Linked DNA regions of Homo sapiens: regions 2, 3, 4 and 5 are each linked to region 1. The links are contacts of gene promoters, found by promoter capture Hi-C in blood cells and fetal thymus (Javierre and others, 2016). All regions are on one chromosome and are shown on one strand. The core of a region is centred on a gene start or on the middle of the fragment in contact, and the rest is flanking DNA. Distances in the headings are between cores, read along the strand shown.

Region 1 (2,774 bases), core at 156-2,655:
AAGCCGCGGGTCTGGACTGAAGGGGCGCAAAGTGGGTGGTGAACAGGGTCGAACGCAGTCGAAAGCAAGCCTGGCGGCCGAGTCCTGTCCGCGCCCCTCGGAGCCAGGACGGTTGGGGGCATTGCCGAGGGTACCAGGAGCCTGGGGATCCCGCGGGCTCTGGGCTCCGCGGCGCCGGGCACGCACAGCCCAGCCTGCTCTGATTCGAGCGCACTGGGGGACAACTTCTCCGTTCGCACCCCTTCCCAAAGGGTCAAGCGGCCCGCAGGCCATCACTCCAAACCAGTCGTAGCTTCGGAGACTGGGGATCGACACCACGCCCGGCCCCGCGCCGCCTAGTTTCCCAACAGGGCGCGCTGGCCCGCGAGCCGGAGGAACCTCCGCCCAGGCCTTGCCAAGCGCCCACCCGGAGCAGGCCGGGGGCAGTGAAGGATGCGGCGGGAGCGGCGCGCTGCAGTTCCGCGACGTGGCACGTACCTTGGAAGCGATGACCCAGATATCGGTAGCGGTGGATGAGCCAGGGGTAGAAGGTGGACGGATCCCGCTGCTGCGAGGCGAATAGGGGGTGTGGCGAGTGCGAGGAGGGTAGGGGGTGGGCGGCCAGGGCGTGCGGCGGCGGCACCGGGTGCACTGGCACGGCGGGGTTGGGCGGGTGCGAGACCGCCTCGGCGAACACCAAGTCCGGGTTGGAGTAGACGCCCCTACCGGCGGCGGCGGCGGCGGCCGAGTGGAAGCCGTTGAGGAACGGATTTATGGGGCTGGAGTTAGCGTAGCTGAGTGCCGCGGGACGGATGGGGTCCTCGGAGCGCGAGGCGGGCAGGGGACTGTCCTTGGCCACCAGCGACTCGATGGTGAAGCAGCGCTTGGGCGCCGGCTGGAACATGCTGCGCCGAGGAGCGGGCGCCCTGGGCTCCCAGCTCCTGGCGACCGCCGCACGCTGCCTCCGCCGCCCGCTGCCCGCGGCGAGGACGGACGAGAATTGGGGACTCGTTTGTTTGGGGTGGGGGTGGGGGTGGGGGGAAGGAAAGGAAGAAAGAAAGGAAAGGAAAGGAAAAAGGAAAGGAGGGGGGAGGGAGAGGGAGAGGCAAAGCCGAGGATCCCGAGAATCTTGCACCAAACGCGCCCAACCTGAAGAGAGGGGGGAAAATCCTTCCAGAAGAATTTGCAGGCGTGGATTGGGGTAATTTTTTTTCTTTTTTTTTCTTTTTTTTTCTTTTTTTTTTTTTTTTTTTTTTTTGGCGAGATGGCGTGGGGGGATCGGAGTTAGAGGCAGGGAGGAGAAGGGGGGAAAGTTCTCGGGGGAGGCAAAAAAAAAAAAAAGTTTTTTCTCCTCTGCAAAAGGCGGGCAGGGCGCCCTAAGTCCAAGGACAATCCATGGAAGTGTTCGCTTCTTCACAAGTTGTGCAAACGATTTGTTAGTTCATGAGCCTAATTAGTGCGGGGATCACATAAACAGCTTCCTCCGAAGCCTGGTAAATGGCTTGATGATTGGTCGCTATTACTCGCCCTGAGGTGGAAGGGGGGAGACTCTTTAAAGTGCGTCAGAGGGAGGTGAGCGCCTGGGAACCCGGAGGCCTGGATCCGGGCCGAGAGTGGAACGGAGTCGGCGCCGCCGCCTCGGCTGAGCCTTCTGCCGCCCACCGGGCGGCCGGGCTTCTCCGCGCCTTCGCCCCTCGCTCCCAGCTCACTCGCTCCTGCGGCGCCCGCTGCGGCTTCTCCTCCTCCTTCGCCTCCTCCTCTTCCTCCAGTTTCTTCTTCTCCTCCTCCTCCTCTTCTTCCTCCTCCTCCTCTTCTTCCTCCTCCTCTTTCCCCACCTACTCCCCCTCAGCCACCGCCTCCTCCTCCACCAGCACCACTCCCTCCGGGGCACCCCGGTCCCTGCAGAGTCCCTGGCCGGCGCCGCCTCCGCTGCGGCCCCCTGAATCCCGAGCCTGCCTCGCCCAAGCTGGTAGGACAGAAGGACAGACAGATTCCTCTAGCCTAGCGCTCCGCCGCTGCTGCCTTACGCGGCCCCGCGTCGGGAGAACTGGGATCGCCCCAAGAGCACCGCGAGGGTAAGCGGGCAGGGGCTGGTTCCCGGGCTAAAGGCGCCGTTCGGTTATACCAATCCCCACACTTAGCAAAACTCCCAGCGGTTTCCTAGGCCAGGAGGGATCCTGGAGTGAGGGGTACGGGGTCCTCCCACCCCATCAACCACGCTTAGCCTCGAGGTCCCAGGGTCGGTGCGTTCGCGATTCTTGACCCGGCTCGTTCGTTTGCGAGTTGAGACCGGGAGCTGCCGACCCCGCCGGAGCAGTGGGCTTCCAACTCTCTCCCTCTCTCGCCCCACGGTCTCTAGCGTTTTCTGTCTGGGAGGGTGCTCACCTCCTTCCCCAAAACAATTCCTTCTGGAATATCTGGGACCGGCAGTCCAAGGTCAGGGGAGAGCCCGATATGGTGCTACTGTACTATTAAGGTTCCGTCGTAATTATTTTTGTCAGTGTGGTCAATGTTATTATTATTATAGATGATATTATTTTATTATTATTATTTCTATTATTATTATTATGCCATCTGTTGTCCCGGGGTTGGTGGGGGGGTGGTGGTTGCTGTGCAAACCCAGTGCAACTAACGACTACGGATCGCATCTCCGGTCCCGGGCCGTGTCCGCATTTTCGAGCTCGCCTTCGGTTTTGGGATGATTTTAGGACCGAGTTCCCTCGTCCCCATTGGCTCGCGCGGCGGCATAATTATGATCACATCCCCAGGCTGCTGGCGCTGCTCTCTGTTTATTG
Region 2 (2,774 bases), core at 130-2,629, 770 kb before region 1:
TGTAATTAGCTCTTAATTGGTGGTAGTTGAAGCTTAGCACCCTTGGTTTCTTTCTTCATGATTGCCATTTTATTAGCAGCCAGTCATTAATTAATCTTTTTCTAATTAGCTTATAAAACTGTTGATGGCACATTATTGTAAATGTGATTTTAAGTTCAAAGCTTGTTAATAGGCTTTCTTACTTAGAAGAACAGAGATAAAGAAATTGCTGAAAACAGTACTACAGTTCTTTAAAAAACTGTCTTTCTTATGGGGGCTGTGTAAAGCATCTAACAGCTTATGGTTAATTTTTTAATGCTTTTTTCCCCTTATGAATGGCATAAGTTGCTTGAATATAAACGTCTGTATCCAGGAGTAATTTCAACAGTAGAACATCATCTTCTCCCTCCTTTGGAATACTGTAATCCACATATAATTTGAAGCCTTAATAGTCATCATTAAAACAGGTGTTATGTAAATGATTTCACTATGAAATCAGAGTATATGAATCATATATGCACATATACACACATATATGAATGATATGTGGATATACACATATAAAAGATATTTGTATATATATCTATTTGATGTGTTTTAAAAACAGGATTTGTTGGGTTATGCTTTGAAATAAAGTGATAGGAGTTGTAGGTATAAAAATAAATGATAGCTGTGTAAACGATCGTACATATATATAGATACATGTAGTATACAAACGTGCAAACATATGCAAACCTGTGCATGCACATTTTAAGATGACAGTGAAGTTAGGTTATATTTCTTAGGACAGAAAATGATTTGATTTAAAGAAGGAGTTAAGTGACTGGATATGGCCTAGCTTATTTGCTTCACCAGGGCTTTGGCATCTCAGGTGTGACCATGGAGGGAAAGGTACCAGTTCAAATGTAGATGTCTTGAATTTACTAGAGCACATAATATATTAAATTGTGGTTTGAGTGAAACACATTGGTCACATTATATTCTTTGTTGAAATATACCACCAGTTTCTTAAAACTCCTTCACTGCAAGGCATTGTGAGCTGTTTTTTAAAAATCAATATTAATGCAGAGTTTCGAAAGTTATTTTTTAAAAACACAGTGTTACCAGTCATTGGAAGTACTTTTTCTTATTTGCTTCTTGAACTTTGTATGTTATTTCAACTTTGGCTATTTCTTTGCTTGTTTTTTGGAAGGCATTTTATGATGCCATGCAAGAGACACTAGAAAGGGATAGCTGACAAGGAAAAAATTAAAAATTGGATAAAAAGTAAATGAATAATGTCATATTACTAAAAAGATGAGAGGCTAATTTGTGCCGACTTTTTGCTAATTTTGTTCAAGCCTCAAAATGAGGAGCTGTCACCCGTTCTGTGTAGCACTGATGACAGTGCCAATGATCCATGAAATAAGCTGCCGCTGGCTTTGTTCTGATAAGAATGAACAAATCTGCACCATGTTCGGCTCCCAGAATCTCATTTTCATACTTGCATGCAGGCTAAAAGAAATAAGCTGTTTGCAGGCTTGATTAATCAGACATTGGAGGGGTTTTTGTCTCTTTGATCTCTTTCGTCTCCTAGGTAACTTGCTTGACATTAATGTTGAGCTTGAGTAAAGACAATCAAGAATTGTCGACCAAACTGATATAAAAATTAAAGACCTTAACACTTTAAGTACTCCAGTAATGGTTCCGCTTTACTTCAGAAAACATCTGTTTTCATTTAATTAAAGAACAAAAGAGAATGGCATAAATATTTTTCATAGAGACCTATTATTCCATAAAAAGTTAAAGTATGATAATTGGTATTTTTAAATAAGTGCCTTGAAAGTGTTCAAAAGGGAGGAAAACTTTATAAATCTGTTACAAGCTAGTAATTTTGAGATGAGTAAAATTTACTCTGAAACGGATAAGAAATTTACAGTTATGCTAGATTAAGCGGTTTGAATCAGATACTTCAAATGATTATCAGCAAACTTTATAATGACAAGATTTTGCAAGAAAAACTAACTTTATTTTGAAGTTTGTCTTTTAAAAATCTGTACTGTGTTGCAAGGATGTGCCATTATATCTATTTTACAACCCAATATGATTTACACACGCTAAACCTGTAAAATTGAAAGGAATTAAAAAAATGTCGCCGTGCATTTGCTTGAGGTTATGCAGACGCTTTTACAAATCTTCCAAGTGGCTGTAAAGATGAATGCCTCAAGGGTCCAGCCAGGGCCCTGCTTTTCCAACCAGCTAAAGCCCTTATCTTAAATCCAAGCAAAGTACCATTAATCTTTTTGAAAGACCTTTTATGGCTTTTAATATATCCCAAATTAGAACATTTTACACCCTTGGTTCCTGAAATATGGTGATAAAAAGCCTTTAGAGCTTAATTTTCCTTACTGCATGCTCTGACCAATTTGCAGTTCTTTGTGATAATGTTTAGACACCTTAATTAAAATGCAGCAAAATATTGGATGTTCTATATGGAAAATGCTGATACTTTGGCTACACATACAAGAAATTTTGTATATATTTTATTCATTTAAAAAAATTTCTTTCCACGTTGTGTTGCTATAGTTATCTGATGACCCAAAACCATTTTTTAAATATTAAACCATTGACCAAGCTTTTGTGATGTTTACATTGAGCATGAAGATGCATTTTTCTTTTTATGGAAGTGGAAGGGGGATTCTTTTCGGCCTATTTTATTTGTTTGTAATACTGCAGCACAGCACGATATTCTTTTATATTCTGGAACCCAGGTTAGTCATCTTGACTGGGAAACTGCGTTTCTTCTCAACTGCCTC
Region 3 (2,774 bases), core at 113-2,612, 730 kb before region 1:
CCCCTGCTTCAGGCCTGTACTCAAATGACCCCAATCTCAGTGAGGCCCATTCTGACCACCTTGTTCTATATTACACCCCACTGTGGCTCTAGGAGCACCTCTGTTTTTGTTTTGTTTTGTTTTTTCACAGCACTTGTTATCTTCTGACACACTATTGTTATCTATCTATCTATCTATCCATCATCCATCTATCCAGCTCTATCTCTCCTACCATCTGTCTGCCTATCACCCATCTCTCTATCCACCTATCATCTATTAATTTATCTATCCATCCATCCACCTATCTATGTGTCTATCTATGTATCTATGGATCTATCTATATCTATCATCTATCTATCTATCTATCTATCTATCTATCTATCTATCCATCCATCCATCCGTCTGCCTATTTATCCATCTATCTATGCTTTCATCCATCCATGTTTCTATCTACCCATCCATCTATTATTTATCCATCCATCTATCCATTCATCCACCCATGTATCTATCTATCTATCTTCCATCCATCCATTTATCCATCCATCTATCCATTCATCCACCCATGTATGTATGTATGTATGTATGTATGTATGTATGTGTCTATCTATCTATCTATCTATCATCTATTATCTATCATCTGTCATCTATCTATCTGTCATCTATCTATCTATCTATATCTATCTATCTATCTATCTATCTATCTATCTATCTATCTATCTATCTATCATCTATCTAATCATTTACTGTGGCTTTTGTGTGACTCCCTCACATTTTTGCTCCATGAGGGCGAGGATTTTTTTTTTTGTTTTTTAGTTTTTTTGTTTTTTTTTTGCCTGACAGAGCCCGTGGCCTGAGCATGACGTGAACTCTCTCATCTTTACACCTCTGCACCAAGCCAGGGTCTGGCACATGGAAGCCCCATTTCTTCCAGGCCTGGCCCCTTCTCAAGGATCTCTTGAGAGAATTTCCCACTGAAAAGCTTCTAGAAAAAACAGGATGAATTTGGTTTTTATTTTTTTTGTCATTTGTCCAATTTTCTTTGACTCTTTTTCTATTTCTTAGTGAATTCTTTACAAAGTCATTTACAAGATAGTCAGGATCCCTATGACATGAGTGACATAAAGAGGAAGAAAAGAGTTAGTATTGCAATTTACTCATCCATATGTATCTGTTTTAAAAAACTATAAAGGCAAAATTTAAAATTAGCAAACAAAAATGCCCCACATAACTTCAGCACCTTTTAGAAATACTGTTGCCATAGCAACTTGAGGCCGATCCTGGTGGTCACTTTGTGCCCAGTTCTATTGAAGCTGAAAATTACCATGGTCTTGTACGTATGCTCGGCCAGCACAGTAAAGACCAGGTTACAGAAAATTAAAACTTTTAGGTAGTGAAATTACTTTTTCGGGAAAAAAGGAAACCTCTCAAATCTAAGTGTTTTTCTTCTTTAAAAAAAAAAAAAGCATAATTTGTCGGACATTAAAATAACAAAAGGGCTTTGAGAAAGGATTATGGGTTTCTGATGTCTCACCACTAGAATAGATTTACTTTCTATCCGACTGATGTTGTAATCTTGCATTCTGAGGTAATGTTTTAGCTCTTTCTCTTCACATAAATAAAGATTTCCATGATAGCTCTTCATTCCTTTCTGGAGATTTCCTTTGGATTCCGCCCCCTCGGACTCTCAGACTTGTAAACTGTTTCACTGGGCCGGCGCACAAACTGGATGCAGAACTTGTCTCGGGCAGGGAACTCATTACCAGAGGTTTGTATGGCTACAAGCTTCAAATGAAAAAATGCTGAAAGTTTGGAGAGCTTGAATGGAGACGCTCGGCATCGGATGCTTTTCCTAACCAGGGGGAGGAGAAATTCAGTTTTTGAAATGGAGAGTTCAAAGTTCTGTTCTTAAACCAAAAGGCGCCTGGCCCTGGAATTTCTCTAAGCTCGAGGCTGCAGATGAATACTTTCTTGCGGGCAATTCCCATTTCAGAAAGAAAGCGCCTATGTTTACAACCCTGGCTTGCCTGCTAATCACATGCGCCTCTTTTCCCCCTTGGATCTCAGGCTGACTCGCCTGCAACTCTCTCCGGGCAGCATAGATTTAATTGGGGCTCAATCTCTTTAAAAATTCACATATATATTCCTTTCCATGTAAAGCAACTGCAGAAACTAGCTGGGCTTTGAATATCTTTTGAAGCCGAAACAACTGTGTGTAAATAAAGGGCTGTTATTTACCAACAGGGGAACAAAAAGCCCTGGGTACACCCTCAGCTCCCAGCTCGCGGAGGACTTCTCTCCCCAGCAACTTCATACTTATTAGCTTGATTGCCAACTTGGGTTTATTATTCACAAACTCACCCTGAGCTTGGCCTTTGAATGCAAAGAAAAAATGGTGTTTATGTTCCAGATTTTTTGGCTTTATTCTCATGACTGAAGTAAATGATGAAGTATTTTCTGCCTCAGCAGAAGCAGCAGGGAGGAAGTGCATGTTGTAATTACCTTAAACAAGCAGGCCATGGAGACGGCTTTTGGAACTGCGTGGAGGGGGCCCCAGAGGAGGTGGGGGACACCAGGCTGTTGGGTCTACACCCAGCCTTCTGTGTCTCTGCTCACTTGGACAGTAAAGGAGGGACTGCCTTGCAAAGGTGGCCTATGCCCAATTTAGTGACAGAAACACTTTCTCCAACCAGCAAAACACATCGTATTAATTGGGTGTTACTTGGGTTATTTTTAAAGAGAAATAAGATCCCAGCACTTTGGGAGGCTGAGAAGGGAGGATCACTTGAGGCCAGGAG
Region 4 (2,774 bases), core at 86-2,585, 680 kb before region 1:
TAAATTTCTTATGGACAAGATATACTTGGGTGATATTTTTAAATCTACTTTGCCAATGTCTGGGTCTTTTAATTGGTGTATGCACACCATTTACATTTAAAATTATTATTGGCTTATTAGGCATTACATTTGCCACTTTATTTTATTTCTGATTCTCCCACTGTTTTTCATTTTTGTTTTCTGTTTCCTGACCTCCTGTGTTTCACTTGAACATTTTTTTGGAATTCCATTTTGATTTATCTGAAGTGTTTTTAATATATCTCTTTTTATGGCTGTTTAAGTGGTCACTCCAGATATTATATTATATACACATAACTTATCAGTCTACCTGTGTGATCTTTTTACTAGTTTAAGTGATGTGTAGAAACATTATTTCCCTTTATGTCCATTTATCCTTCCCCGTATAATAAAATTGTGTTAAATATTTTCTTTAGTATATTTGGGACCACATTAGACAGTATTACAATTTTTGCTCCAATCATCAAACATAATTTAAAAGACTCAAAAAGAGAAATGAAGTCTCCCATATTTTTGCTTTTCATAATCTTTCCTTCTTGCTGATAGTCTAAGAGTCCTTTATCATTTTCTTTCTGTTTAGAAAACTTCTGTTAGCTATTCTTTTAGGGTAGGTCTGCTGGCAACAAATTCTCTTAGTTTTTCTCCATCTGAAAATGTTTTGATTTTCCCTTCATTCCTGAGGAATATTTTTTCTGGATATAGGATTCTGTGTTGACAGTTATTTTCTTTCAGCAGTTGATCAAGGTTATGCCACTTCCTTCTGGTCTCCGTGGTCTCTGTTAAGAATTTCATTACCACTAGCATTGTTTTCCTCCTATATGTAAGGTATTGTTTCTCTCTCATTGCTTTCAGGATTTTAAAATCTATCTTTAGTTTTAAGAAGTGTGACTATGATGTGTCTTGATGTAGATTTCTTTGGGGCCCTTCTGTTTTGAGTTCACTCTGTTTCTTGAACATAAAATTTATGTGTTTAGCCAAATTTGGGATGTTTTCAGTCAGTCACTCTTCCAGTACTTTTTTTTTTTTAACTTCATTCTCTTTTTCCTGTCTTTCTGGAATTCCAGTGGCACAAATATTAGATCTTTTATCAGTGTTCCATATGACTCTGAAGCTATGCTCATTTATTTTCTGTCTAATTTTTCTCCTTTGTTCAGGTCAGGTAATCCTATTGTTCTATCTTCAAATCCATTGATTCTTTCCTCTTTTCCCTCATTTTGCTTTTGTGCTTACCTATAGAGTTTTAAATTTGTTATTATATTTTTAGTTATGAAATTCCCATCTGGTTTTTCTTTATATTTATTTTGTATTGCTTGGCCAAGACTCTATTTTTTTATTCATTTCATGTTGTTCATAATTGCCCAGCAAAACATTCTCATCATGGCTGCTTTAAAATCTTAGTCAGATAATTTGAATATCTTTATCATCTCAGTGTAGGCATTTAATTGACTTTTTTCACTCAGTTTGAGATCATCCTGATTCTTGGAATGATGAACCATTTTGAAGAGAGGGCCTCACCTCCTATTGGTCAGGTAGGGGTGGAAATCCAGTTCCCTCTTGGCCTCTGTTGATACCCAACTTGGAGGGGAGAGGTTCCTTGTTAGGGCTAGTATGTGTGAGAGTTCTCATTCCTCATTAGGCCACTATTGACACCCCAGGGTGTGGTGGTCTCCAATTCCTGATTATTCAGGTCCCCTCTGATACCATTCCAATGGAGTCAGGGAATAGGGGCATTTCATTACTCTTAAGTGGGGGCTAAAGTTCAGGCTTCCCATATGGCCTTCACTGATTTCACATGGACATGATGGGGTTGGGGGTGGGGGAGCTCCTTATCACCTGGCAGGGATGAAAGTCCCAGCTACATAGCCATCTCTAACACCACTCCAGTGGGGATGGGGGTGGATTTTGGGTGTTTTCCTTGCAGCCTGGTGGGAATGGGCCCCATCCCCATCCATGACAGCAAAGGCCAAGTGGTAAACCTGGACTTCCACGTTTTCTGTGATGCTGTAGCGGAGTGATTGTTCACCAAAAGTGTTCTTTCTTGGTAGGCCACCCCTTACCTTGTCCGTTTGCTAGAGACAGCAGGTTTTTGCTAAGGCTTTTTTGTCTGTACCTATTTGCATTTCTAGGTTGCTGGCTTTTCCAGCATTCAGTCTGGGATACATGAATCAAAAAGAAAATCCATATAGCTCATCATTGTGTTGTTCGTCAGGTCTCCTGGCTCCTGGCCCATCTTCCTCCCTCCCCATCCACCTTTCAGAGCTTTCTGATATTTGTTTTGTATATAATGCTCAGGATTTTTAGTTGTATTTAGAAGAAAAAATAGGGAAAAGTACATCTGCTTCATTTTTCTAGAAGCTGAAGTTCCCACTTATCTTTATTTTTAAAGAAAATAAATATTTTACTTTCAATAATAATTTCAAAGATGCAGGTTGCACAGAAGTAAAACAAATACAGCCAAAATAAAGTGAACTTAGATGTGAGGGATGGAGATAAATACTCAGCAAATTCTTTTAAAGAGGTCTTCAATCGTTAAGACTGTTTAAAACCCTTACTAAATAAAAACAATGCTCCCTTATATTTAGAGTTCTTTATAGTTTCTTAAGTAATTCCTCATCTGTTATCCTATTTGATCCTACTAGGAATCTTGCAAAGGAGGTAAGGCAAATAACCTTATTCCAGTTTTACAGAAAGGGAAATGGTACTATAAAAATCAGAGTATAACATAGGCTCTACTAAAAATTTATACTGAGCAATTG
Region 5 (2,774 bases), core at 146-2,645, 650 kb before region 1:
CTACAAATCTATCAAATTAAATTAATTAAAAGGCTGACTATACCCAATGTTAGTGAGGAGGTGAAGAAATTAGAACTCTCATACAATGGTATAATTGATGTGGAAAACAGTTTGCCAGTTTCTGAAAACATTAAATATCCACTTACTATATGATCCAGCCATTCCACTACTAGGTATCATTTATCCAAGAGCAACAAAAGCACATGTCCACAGGAAGACTTGTACATGACTTATACAATATGCTCATAGCATATTCATTTGCAATAGCAAAGATCTGGAAACAAAATGTCCATTAACAGGGGAATGAATAAATAAATTGGCAAAACCATACAATGGAATACTACTCAGCAATGAAAAAGAGAATGAACTATTGTTAGACACAACAACGTGATTGAATCCGAAATTAATAATGCTAGGTGAAAGAGTATCAACAAAATGAGAGTACACATTATATGATTTCACTAACATAAATTCTAGAAAAACTTAGTGTCAGAAAGCAGAACAGTGGTCACCTGGGGATGGGGAATGAACAAGTCAAAGAAAACTTTTGAGGGCGATGAATAAGTTCATTGTCTTGATTGTGTTGATGGTGTAGGTTCAACTTTGTCTAATTTTGCACTTTGTGTGCAATTTATTGTATTTTCATGAAGCTTTTAAAAAGCCAAACAAAAACTGGAAAAGTATATTTGCAACAGATATAAAAATTATATCTATAATAGATACAAAGTTAATATAAATTGACACAAAAACACTGATATTCTAACAGATAAACAGGCAAGGTCACACACAAATTTTAAAAATAATAAAAATATAGACTGGGTGAGGTGGCTCATGCATGTAATCCCAGCACTTTGAGAGGCCAAGGCGGGCAGATCACTTGAGGTCAAGCGTTTGAGACCAGCCTGGCCAACATGGTGAAACCCTGTCTCTACTGAAAATACAAAAATTAGCCAGGCATGGTGGCACCCGCACCGGTAATCCCAGTTACTTGGTCAGTCGAGGCAAGAGAATCGCTTGAACCTGGGAGGTGGAGGTTGCAGTGAGCTGAGATCACGCCACTGCACTCCAGCCTGGATGACAAAGTGAGACTCCACTTCAAAAATAAAAATAAAAATAAAAATAATAAAAATATGACCAGTATTTTAAATGAGAAAATGTTCATCCTCATGGAGAACTGAGAAAATGGAAATTAAAGCAACTCAAATATATCAATTTTTACTTTACAAATTAGGAAATATTAAATTTTTTTTTTAGAGACAGGGTCTCACTGTGTTGCCCAAGGTGGACAACCTACTGGTGCAGTAGCTATTCACCGGTGGTATCATGGCACACCATAGTCTTGACCTCCTGGCCTCAAGCCATTCTCCCACTTCAGTCTCCTGAGTAGCTGGGACTACAGGTTCATGGCTGGAAATATTTTTAAATGATAAAAACAATGTTCATTAAGGTATGATAAAATAGTCTCTCACATATTGCTAGTGAGCATATACATTTATATTATTCTTTTGGACAACAATTTGGCAATGTGGATTTCACATAACAAACAACCTGAGCCTTGAAAATGGACCTGATATTGATGCAGTAATTCTACGACTGGGAATCCATCCTAAGGAAAAAAGTTCCAAAAATGGAAATCCACCTTCTTTCCCACAAAGATATTCATGGCAATAATACTTTTAATAAGGTAGTCTTGGAAACAATGTAAAATTGAACCACAAGGGATCTTTATGTTATTGTTATATCAATTTCCTGAAAAATTATACAACCATATAAATTCTATTTATAAAGATTTCATAATAACTTGGAGAACTAGGGGAAAATATTATAATATTAAAAATAAAAAACAAAAAGTACACAAAATCACAGTATGATTACAACTGTTTTGTTAAGAAGTGTTTTTACAAGAAAAAACATGTTAAATAAAGATTACATTTGAATGCAGCAAGAAGTTGACAATAGTTTTCTTTGGGATTCTAAATGTATAGCTGAATTTGTTTTCCTTCTTTATGTTACTCTCACATTTCCAATTTTTATGTGGCTATTGAACTTTTGTATTAAGAGGAAAATAAATCTTTTTAAAAAAGAAGCAGAAAGTCTGACCAGTTCTTCACAGATTTTACAATTTGAGAATAAAAGCTTTAATTACATTTTTCTTCCTAGTTATTTGGAGACTGTTCAATATAGGCTGTTTCTACTCCCAAATTGATACTGGAAAGAATCGGTATTTATCTGTTTCCCATTTCCCGTTTTTTGTCATTTCTCATCTTTGTCACCAACCCTCTGTGTGACAAGGTATTTTGTTTGTTTGTTTTTTAATCTAAGTTTCTTCATCTTCTCAATGAGAGAATTGAACTGTTACATTCCTGCATCACATATTTCCAGAACATCTGCTCTGGGCAGGCCTTCAAGATGGGAGTAGGGGCAGCTGGAGAACCTATGAAGCTCCCAGTCCAAGATTCCCACTAGACAGCTCATGTGGAAAGCAGGTTTCTGAGAAGGGGTGATTTTCCATGGGCCATCCTCAGGGGATGAGACTGGCATCAGAGTAGAAAAAACGCACTCACCGAGAAGGGTGAAAATAGCTCACAGATCAGCAGGGTAAACGCACCCTGCTGGGCATGTCCACCTCTAAGCCAAAAGGACAAATAAGTTGGGAGGAAAAATTTTTTAAAGATCAGACAAAAACAAACTGTAGCATTTCTTAGAGTCCAGGTAACGTATCCACCAGCAGCTCAGAGATAAGCAAGAGTGTGGAGGTGCTTCCCTGGAGAAAG

The links. Contacts are between HindIII fragments. The CHiCAGO score rates a contact against its expected background, and 5 or more counts as called.
Region 2: a contact is called between a fragment that was not itself captured here and the fragment with the promoter of EMX2 in region 1, in 1 of 17 cell types (endothelial precursors). The highest score is 6.0, in endothelial precursors.
Region 3: a contact is called between a fragment that was not itself captured here and the fragment with the promoter of EMX2 in region 1, in 2 of 17 cell types (endothelial precursors and M2 macrophages). The highest score is 6.7, in endothelial precursors.
Region 4: a contact is called between a fragment that was not itself captured here and the fragment with the promoter of EMX2 in region 1, in 6 of 17 cell types (total CD4 T cells, non-activated CD4 T cells, activated CD4 T cells and 3 more). The highest score is 7.4, in total CD4 T cells.
Region 5: a contact is called between a fragment that was not itself captured here and the fragment with the promoter of EMX2 in region 1, in 2 of 17 cell types (non-activated CD4 T cells and activated CD4 T cells). The highest score is 5.7, in non-activated CD4 T cells.

The regions. Positions count from the first base shown.
Region 1 is chr10:117,541,377-117,544,150 of GRCh38, reverse strand. EMX2 (empty spiracles homeobox 2) reads right to left here and starts at 1,405. Exons shown (of 3, transcript NM_004098.4): 1 at 478-1,405. The coding sequence starts at 883. It also overlaps EMX2OS. RefSeq lists an enhancer at 1-190. The HindIII fragment of the contact is 6,949 bases long and covers 1-2,774 here.
Region 2 is chr10:118,314,483-118,317,256 of GRCh38, reverse strand. All of the region lies in intron 7 of FAM204A (family with sequence similarity 204 member A), which reads left to right. Among named protein-coding and RNA genes, the nearest start is that of FAM204A, 26 kb to the left of the region's middle. RefSeq lists an enhancer at 1,073-2,730. The HindIII fragment of the contact is 2,432 bases long and covers 164-2,595 here.
Region 3 is chr10:118,271,443-118,274,216 of GRCh38, reverse strand. No RefSeq gene overlaps it. Among named protein-coding and RNA genes, the nearest start is that of LINC02944, 31 kb to the right of the region's middle. The HindIII fragment of the contact is 803 bases long and covers 961-1,763 here.
Region 4 is chr10:118,222,448-118,225,221 of GRCh38, reverse strand. No RefSeq gene overlaps it. Among named protein-coding and RNA genes, the nearest start is that of LINC02944, 18 kb to the left of the region's middle. The HindIII fragment of the contact is 4,713 bases long and covers 1-2,774 here.
Region 5 is chr10:118,193,492-118,196,265 of GRCh38, reverse strand. The region is part of intron 3 of CASC2 (cancer susceptibility 2); the gene reads right to left. Among named protein-coding and RNA genes, the nearest start is that of LINC02944, 47 kb to the left of the region's middle. The HindIII fragment of the contact is 1,486 bases long and covers 653-2,138 here.